2 separate regions of the Homo sapiens genome follow, and region 1 is linked to region 2. The links are contacts of gene promoters, found by promoter capture Hi-C in blood cells and fetal thymus (Javierre and others, 2016). All regions are on one chromosome and are shown on one strand. Each heading gives the region's core, a stretch centred on a gene start or on the middle of the fragment in contact. The rest is flanking DNA. Distances are from core to core; before and after follow the strand shown. Region 1 overlaps ERMP1 (endoplasmic reticulum metallopeptidase 1). Region 2 holds the start of TPD52L3 (TPD52 like 3).

Region 1 (3,449 bases), core at 385-2,884, 520 kb before region 2:
TCCCCTTTATGCCTTCTTCATTTTATTTCTCTACTTATTTCCATAAGTAGAAAAATAACATGAATGTGAAATTTTATTTATTTTTCTGGAGACAGAGTCTCGCTCTGTCACCCAGGCTGGAGTGCAGAGGCACGATCTCAGCTCACTGCAATCTCCAACACTCAGGTTCAAGCGATTCTTGTGCCTCAGCCTCCTGAGTAGCTGAAATTACAAGTGTGCACCACCGTGCTCAGCTAATTTCTTGTGTTTTTAGTACAGACAGGGTTTCACCATGTTGGCCAGGCTGGTCTTGAACTGCTGACCTTAAGTCATCCACCCGCCTCAGCCTCCCAAAGTGCTGGGATTACAGGCGTGAGCCACCATGCCCAGCAAGCAATCAGTTAATAGGTGTCCTTAAGTTATTCTCTGCTGGACCTTCATGGTTATACGTATACTGATTGAATGACAGGGGAAATGGGGACTGCTGATACAAGTGGGGTCAGGAGGAGAAGACTCAGAAACAGCTCAGTTATCAGCACACAATGGACATTTCAGAGTCCCTTTTCATGCTTCTCTTCATTTTATTTTGCACCCATCTCAGAACCTAGAGTGACACAGGATGCAATATTTCAGGAAGGCCGAGGCACGAGAATTGCTTGAACCCAGGAGGCGGTGGTTGCAGGGAGCCGAGATTACACCACTGCACTCCAGCCTGAGTGACAGAGCGAGACTCTGTCTCAAAAACAAACAAACAAACAAACAAACAAAAAACCGTGATTGCTTGACAAGACTTTAATTGCTTTCTAGCAGATGTATTTAATAAATCCCCAAGGACTGAAGGGAAAGCTGTCTGAAATATGCATTGTGGTTCAATTCTCCATTACCCAAAGAAAACAGTCTTACTCTATTAATAAGCCACTATCATTAACACTGCTACACATAAGTAAGAAAATAATTAAAAGAGTGATAACTCATGGCATCAAAGTGCGGCAGGGCTATTTCACATTATAATGAAAAATAAGTGAGCTTTCTAAAGTATTCCAAGAGGCAGTCTTCTCTCCAAAAGCTTTCCCAATAAAATATAATTTAGATGATAAGACACTTTAATCCTCTTTCTTCTGGTTTCCAAGATTTCCATGCTTTGGGGACATTTTCCATTTCCACAATGAACATCTCCAGGGTTCATTTTGCCCCCTTTCATATTATCAGTGGAACAGAATTTAAATGTCCCCTATCTGAGTCATCTTTTATGGACATCCATAGCTCCCATTCATGACTATAATTTAACAAATAAACGGGGGTGTGGGGGCATTCAGTTCATAACTAGTTGACTTCAGATTAGATTAGAACCTAATCTATAGATAACAAAAGTCCACTGTCTCCTTCAATCCTTACAACAGCAAACCTATCAAAAATACAGATGATATAAGGGTTACTATTAAACTCAAAAGCAGCAAACCCTACAGGCAGCAAAGAACATTTTAGAACTTTTCATACAGCCCTATGAATACCAATAAGGATTATCCTTATCCTTATATTATCCTTAATAATTATCCTATAAGTAAAATGGTTGGAAGGCTCAGATCTCTTTTAAGACTAGTACAACCAACCTCAAACAATAATATGCATAAGAATTACTCTACAGGACTATATACACAAAGTCACATATATAGAGCTTTACTGGCTATAAGGGACTTCCACGGATGATGCTGACCATGTGTGTAGTGTTTTCCTTACCTGCTGTCTTTAGAACCTAACTTCCACAAAGTAAAGGGGTAACGAATGCCCTTTACTATATCAGTATGAAAAGGCTCACTATCATCTCCATGAAGAAAAGAACTATAATAAAATCATAGCTCCTTTTCCTGTTTGGTTCCCTATCCTCAAATTTCAAGGTGCACCTCTGAGTGTTCAATAATTACTTTTTATTCTTAGGAATTCCCACCAAAAGAGACCTGCATTCTCTGGAGGGGCCCATCTTGGATCGTGGAGGTGGACATCAAACCAAAGCAAAACCTTGCTTGGGGCTTACTCTGCTCAAGGGGGGTCTGGTCTTAAACTCTGCATCACTGTCTTTTCTTCCCTCTGGGAATCCCAAGGGAAGAAAAAAAGGGATGGCAAACACAGGACTCTCCTTACTAGGGCAGGACACTGATACGGCAAAATGAGGACTGACAAGGCCTGTGATCATTTCATTATTTGGTAAATGAAGGCACGTTTGGGTGTCATAACAGACTCAATTAACAAGCTTTCATGTGGTAGCAACAAGGTAGTGGAATGATAATGAAAAAAGCCTCATCAGATTTAGTCTTCCTTCACTAGCTCTAAAAGCACTAATAAAACCACCCATGTATCTATTAACATGTGCCTCTAATTAGTAATTTCAAAATATACTATTAGGATCATTCACCACCAGGCAATCTCTAACAATTAATACTTGGTAAACGCTCTACAAATTCACACTCAGGTATCTGACAGGCTATTTGAAAAGAGGTAAATCAGAGAATTTGGAAGGATAGGGAGGCAAAAAACTTTTAAACAGCAACAACAAACTCTATACTACAGTTTCTTACGATACCAAATTTACAAGATGCATGGCCATTCATTCACCATTTCTTCTGCTTCAGATTTTCTCAATAAAGTACACGTAACACTATTTCACAGAATCTAGTATGGCTAAATTCATATTCATATAAAAAATGAAGAAAAAGAAAAAAACTTATTTTCTCTTACAAAATAGGACGAGAGAATCATTGTACAGCCAGCCAAAATGGATGCCAGCACAACATCAGGTGGGATTTCAGAACCACTTCTCCCGAGGATAGGGGTAAACATCTCAAATACTGCCCAGATGAGGTACAATGCATAAAGATAAGGAATAAACATCCCCAAAAGGTAAAAAGCAATAAATTTTCCTTGGGCACCTAGGGAAAAAGAGAAAAAAAGCACACATCTATGAAATCCTCCAGTGAGATATAAATTTTTATAGTACTGGTGTGCCTTGGTACCCTAACAGAAATTAGGTTAGATGTGACTCTTGCCCTTAAGGGTGTATGTTATCTTGGAGTAGGATCTTTCACTCAGGATAAAATACAAATAAGAATAAAGCAAAATACACAAGTAATATATTAGTATGTGTTCACAAACATGAGAAAGGGATGGAGTATAAGGCATAAGATAATTTGTGTGGTATGAAAACTTTTAAAAACTAACAATTTAGAAAGCCTACCCAATAAAACCAAAAAAGAAAGAGTCCCTGAAAGCCTTAAGTATTTTAAGGTATTCTCCCATGTATATCAAAATCAAAAATACCCTACCATGCTGCTTGAAGTCCTTATGCACACAGAGCTTTGTGAGCAATGGGAATGCTACCCAGACAGCACTAATAAACGCCGAGCAAAGTCCTTGGTAAGTGAGGGTAACAAGAAAACAGCAATGGACAAACAGCGAAATGTCAAAAAATACTTCTC
Region 2 (3,761 bases), core at 717-3,216:
ATTTTCTCATATGTTTTTTCATATGTTTGTTGGCCACTTGTATGTCTTCTTCTGAAAAGTGTCTGTTCATGTCTTTTGTCTATTTTTTTTTTTTTTTTTTTTTTTTTTTTTTTTTTTTTTTGAGACGGAGTCTCGCTCTGTCGCCCAGGCTGGAGTGCAGTGGCGGGATCTCGGCTCACTGCAAGCTCCGTCTCCCGGGTTCACGCCATTCTCCTGCCTCAGCCTCCCAAGTAGCTGGGACTACAGGCGCCCGCCACTACGCCCGGCTAATTTTTTGTATTTTTAGTAGAGACGGGGTTTCACCGTTTTAGCCGGGATGGTCTCGATCTCCTGACCTCGTGATCCGCCCGCCTCAGCCTCCCAAAGTGCTGGGATTACAGGTGTGAGCCACCGCGCCCGGCCACATTATTGATATATAGAAATGATACTGAATTTATATCCTGAAACTTTACTGAAGTCATTTATCAGTTCCAGGAGCCTTTTGGTGGAGCCTTTCGGGTTTTCTGGATATGGAATCATATCATCTGAAAAAGAAATAATTTGACTTCTTATTTTCCTATTTGAATGACAGGGTATGTCTTGATGTGGGATCTGGCAACTAAGTGTCTGAAAAGCTCAGTTTTGCTATGAGAAAAAAAACCATTCTCTGTCAAAAGGAATCAAGGCTTAATAAAAGATTTCATAGTATACACTGAAGGATGAGGAAGCTTATAAAGAAAATAGGCATCAAGGTTGGTGGTTGAAATAATACAGAGAAGTAAAATCAAGTGCAAGTTCAGATTTGGTGATTTGGAGTCTCAACTTTGAAGAGACAATGTGTGTTCTATATTATGTAGCATAATTCAGGGATTTCTTTACCCTTTAGTCTCAGGTTTGAAAGAGGAGTTCTGATTCAGAGTCTGGGAGTGTTCCTGAAACCACTAGTGTTTCTACAGGCAATAGAGGAAAAGTCTACCCTCTGGAACAAATTGGTTTTTAGGGAGTCCTTGCTGCCCTTTTCAGGCCTTTAAACACATAGCCAAATCCTCCATCAGCCTTCATGTTTACAAGAACAATTCTCACTTTTTAACTTAGGGAAACACACCACTCAGGACAAGGCAATAATAAACACTACTAAATTATGTGAAAGGGTTATAGAACATAAACTCAAAGGAGGGCTGAAGTTGGTTTGAATGCACAGCTGGATGCTTCATTGTAGCCACATAGGCATGAGTAGGGCAAACTGCTGAAATTTGCTGAGGATCAAATTATGTTCCACAAGATCATGCTCGCAAGAATTACAAGAATATCCAACAAAATCACTAGAGTCTAAGACTTGCTCAAGAATATTCTCTGAGAATAGGCAGCCATAGAATGAGCTAAGTGAAGCTCGACCACAAGACCTCACTGGATTAACGTCCTGATTTTTCCATTGCATAAGTTTACTCTCGGCAGAATTACGGTTGGGGGGAGGTTGGGGTGGCAGGTTGGCAGGGGAGAGTGGATCCACACTCTGATAGATCCTATTTAACTAGTTTTACTTTACTGTGCAGACTACCTCCCACAACAGGTAACCTTGAATGTAGGCAGACATGCTTCCAGAAATGTGAGTGGAGGTAGGGCGGAATAAAGAAAATGCAACTGCAAAACTGAAAATTCATACTAGCACAATGATGTTTAAATGATTTTCAAGTGTTGGAGCTGGTGTGGTGGAAAACAGTTGCCTGACGCTTTGGTTTGAAGGCCAGGGCTTGTCATTTACCATGTCAGGAGAAATTCCTCTCTTTTCGACAATAATCTCTGCACTGCCTACCTCAGGAGGTCCTCGCAATGCCAAAATGCCGCCAGTGTGGGTTGCGCCTCAGCTGAGCACTGATTCTACAGCCTCGCGGTTTGGGCGGGAAGTCCCACCTCCGCAACCCTGACCAGCCCGGCTCCCCACCCCCACCACCCGGAAGTGAACACCACGAGCTAGCGTGTCTACTTCACAGGCCAGGTCGTCAACTCAACTGTCAAGGTGTCCATTGTACCAGCTGGGCCATGGATCCCTCCCGCCTGAAATCTGACTCCACCTGCCAAGAGTCTGAGCCTGCAGGCCTAGATTTCGACTCTGCTGGCCAAGATTATTTCTCTGCAGCCCAATAATTCGACTCTTTCTACCAAGAATTGGACCTGGACTCTCTTAACGAAGATCTTCTTTCCCAGTCCATGCCACATGCCAGGACAGAGACCTCTGTGGGCACATATGAATCCCACTCGACTTCTGAACTGGAGGATCTGACAGAGCCCGAGCAAAGAGAGCTCAAAACCAAACTCACTAAATTGGAGGCTGAAATTGTAACCCTACGCCACGTACTAGCAGCCAAAGAGAGACGCTGTGGGGAACTCAAGAGGAAGTTAGGCCTCACCGCCTTGGTAGGGCTGAGACAGAATCTGTCCAAGAGCTGGCTTGATGTTCAGGTCTCCAACACCTATGTGAAACAGAAGACATCAGCTGCTCTGTCCACCATGGGCACTCTCATCTGCAGGAAGCTTGGAGGCGTGAAGAAGTCGGCCACATTCAGATCTTTTGAAGGTCTGATGGGGACAATCAAGTCCAAAGTCTCAGGGGGCAAAAGAGCTTGGCCCTGACTGTCTTTCTTCTGCGGAGGGTGGGGTTGATCTGCTCTCAGTTTTGGGGTGTGGGGAAGACCCACTCCAGATTCCGGGGAGTGGGAATGAGCCACTCCCAGTTCTGGAGAGTGAGGATGACCATCTCCACTTTCTGGAACCAGAATGAGCCCCCTTGGTAACCTTGCCTGGTACTAAACCAGTGCAAGGACCCCCTTCCCTTATTACATTTGCAACTCTGCCCAACAAAAACAAGCAAGCAAACCACAATGGTAAAGTGGTTAATTCAGGAAATTGACAGAATCCAGTTTTGAGAAAAGAACACAGATATTTGCTGCTTTTAAGATAGAGAACCCAAAGTTTTGTACCTGGTTATTTTTCACTTAAGTTTGTAGACGAAATGTGCCATTATATTAGCTTTCCTGAGACTGTATCTAATGGGCAAGTCAGTGGCTCCAGAGGGGTCTTAGGCCAAAGCCCAAACTCTCTTTTGGAAAACTAGCTTATTAGAAAGCCAAAGTAGAGTTCTGTTTAAGCTTGAAAGAGGTATGAAGTAATCTGTAGTGTTTTTTTGGTTTGTTTGTTTGTTTTCCCTTCCCCATTTCCTTCCTTCCCTCAGTCTCAAAGTCACCTTGAAAGCTTCACCTGGCCTACAACTTTTATTTTAAAAAGATGATCAAGAAAACTTCATCTTCTCTGAGACTCAGAAAAAGAGGGGAAAATAGTGGTAGTGCACTAATTGTTACATTACTAATATAGCTTTTGTAAAACTCGTTTGTTTTCAAAGGTCTGGACTAAGCAAAACAACAGTGTCAGTTTAGGAAATTATTACTACTTTGAACACAAACTGAAATTGCAACTTTGCCTTGTGCTTTGTTTATAATTTCTTTATATATCAAAATGAGTGTTTTAAAGTTTAACCCTTGAAGCAGCATGTCTTTGCCATAGCAGCACTTCACTTAAAAGGAAGAAATTGCCTCTCTGGCAGCAATTCCTAGTTAGTTACCACCTCCAGCTGAGGGGCTGGAGGAAAACAGGTATAGCCAAATTCAAGAAAGATAAACCCCTGTCTCAAGGAACATTTTAAAAAGAACGTCTGTCCCCTGTGATGCTGGCTGTTATGCCTTTGAATGGACCTAACTATACATCTTTGCTCTTAACTCCAAGTCTGC

What was found. Contacts are between HindIII fragments. The CHiCAGO score rates a contact against its expected background, and 5 or more counts as called.
Region 1: a fragment that was not itself captured here is called in contact with the fragment with the promoter of TPD52L3 in region 2 in 1 of 17 cell types (endothelial precursors); the score reaches 5.5 in endothelial precursors.

The regions. Positions count from the first base shown.
Region 1 is chr9:5,802,315-5,805,763 of GRCh38, forward strand. ERMP1 (endoplasmic reticulum metallopeptidase 1) reads right to left here. Exons shown (of 15, transcript NM_024896.3): 9 at 3,297-3,449; 10 at 2,713-2,903. Among named protein-coding and RNA genes, the nearest start is that of ERMP1, 29 kb to the right of the region's middle. The HindIII fragment of the contact is 1,182 bases long and covers 1,044-2,225 here.
Region 2 is chr9:6,326,409-6,330,169 of GRCh38, forward strand. TPD52L3 (TPD52 like 3) reads left to right here and starts at 1,967. Exons shown (of 2, transcript NM_001001874.3): 1 at 1,967-2,554. The coding sequence starts at 2,188. It overlaps LOC107987046 (a long non-coding RNA gene), which reads right to left and starts at 1,860. Exons shown (of 3, transcript XR_001746614.2): 1 at 1,793-1,860. The HindIII fragment of the contact is 1,804 bases long and covers 706-2,509 here.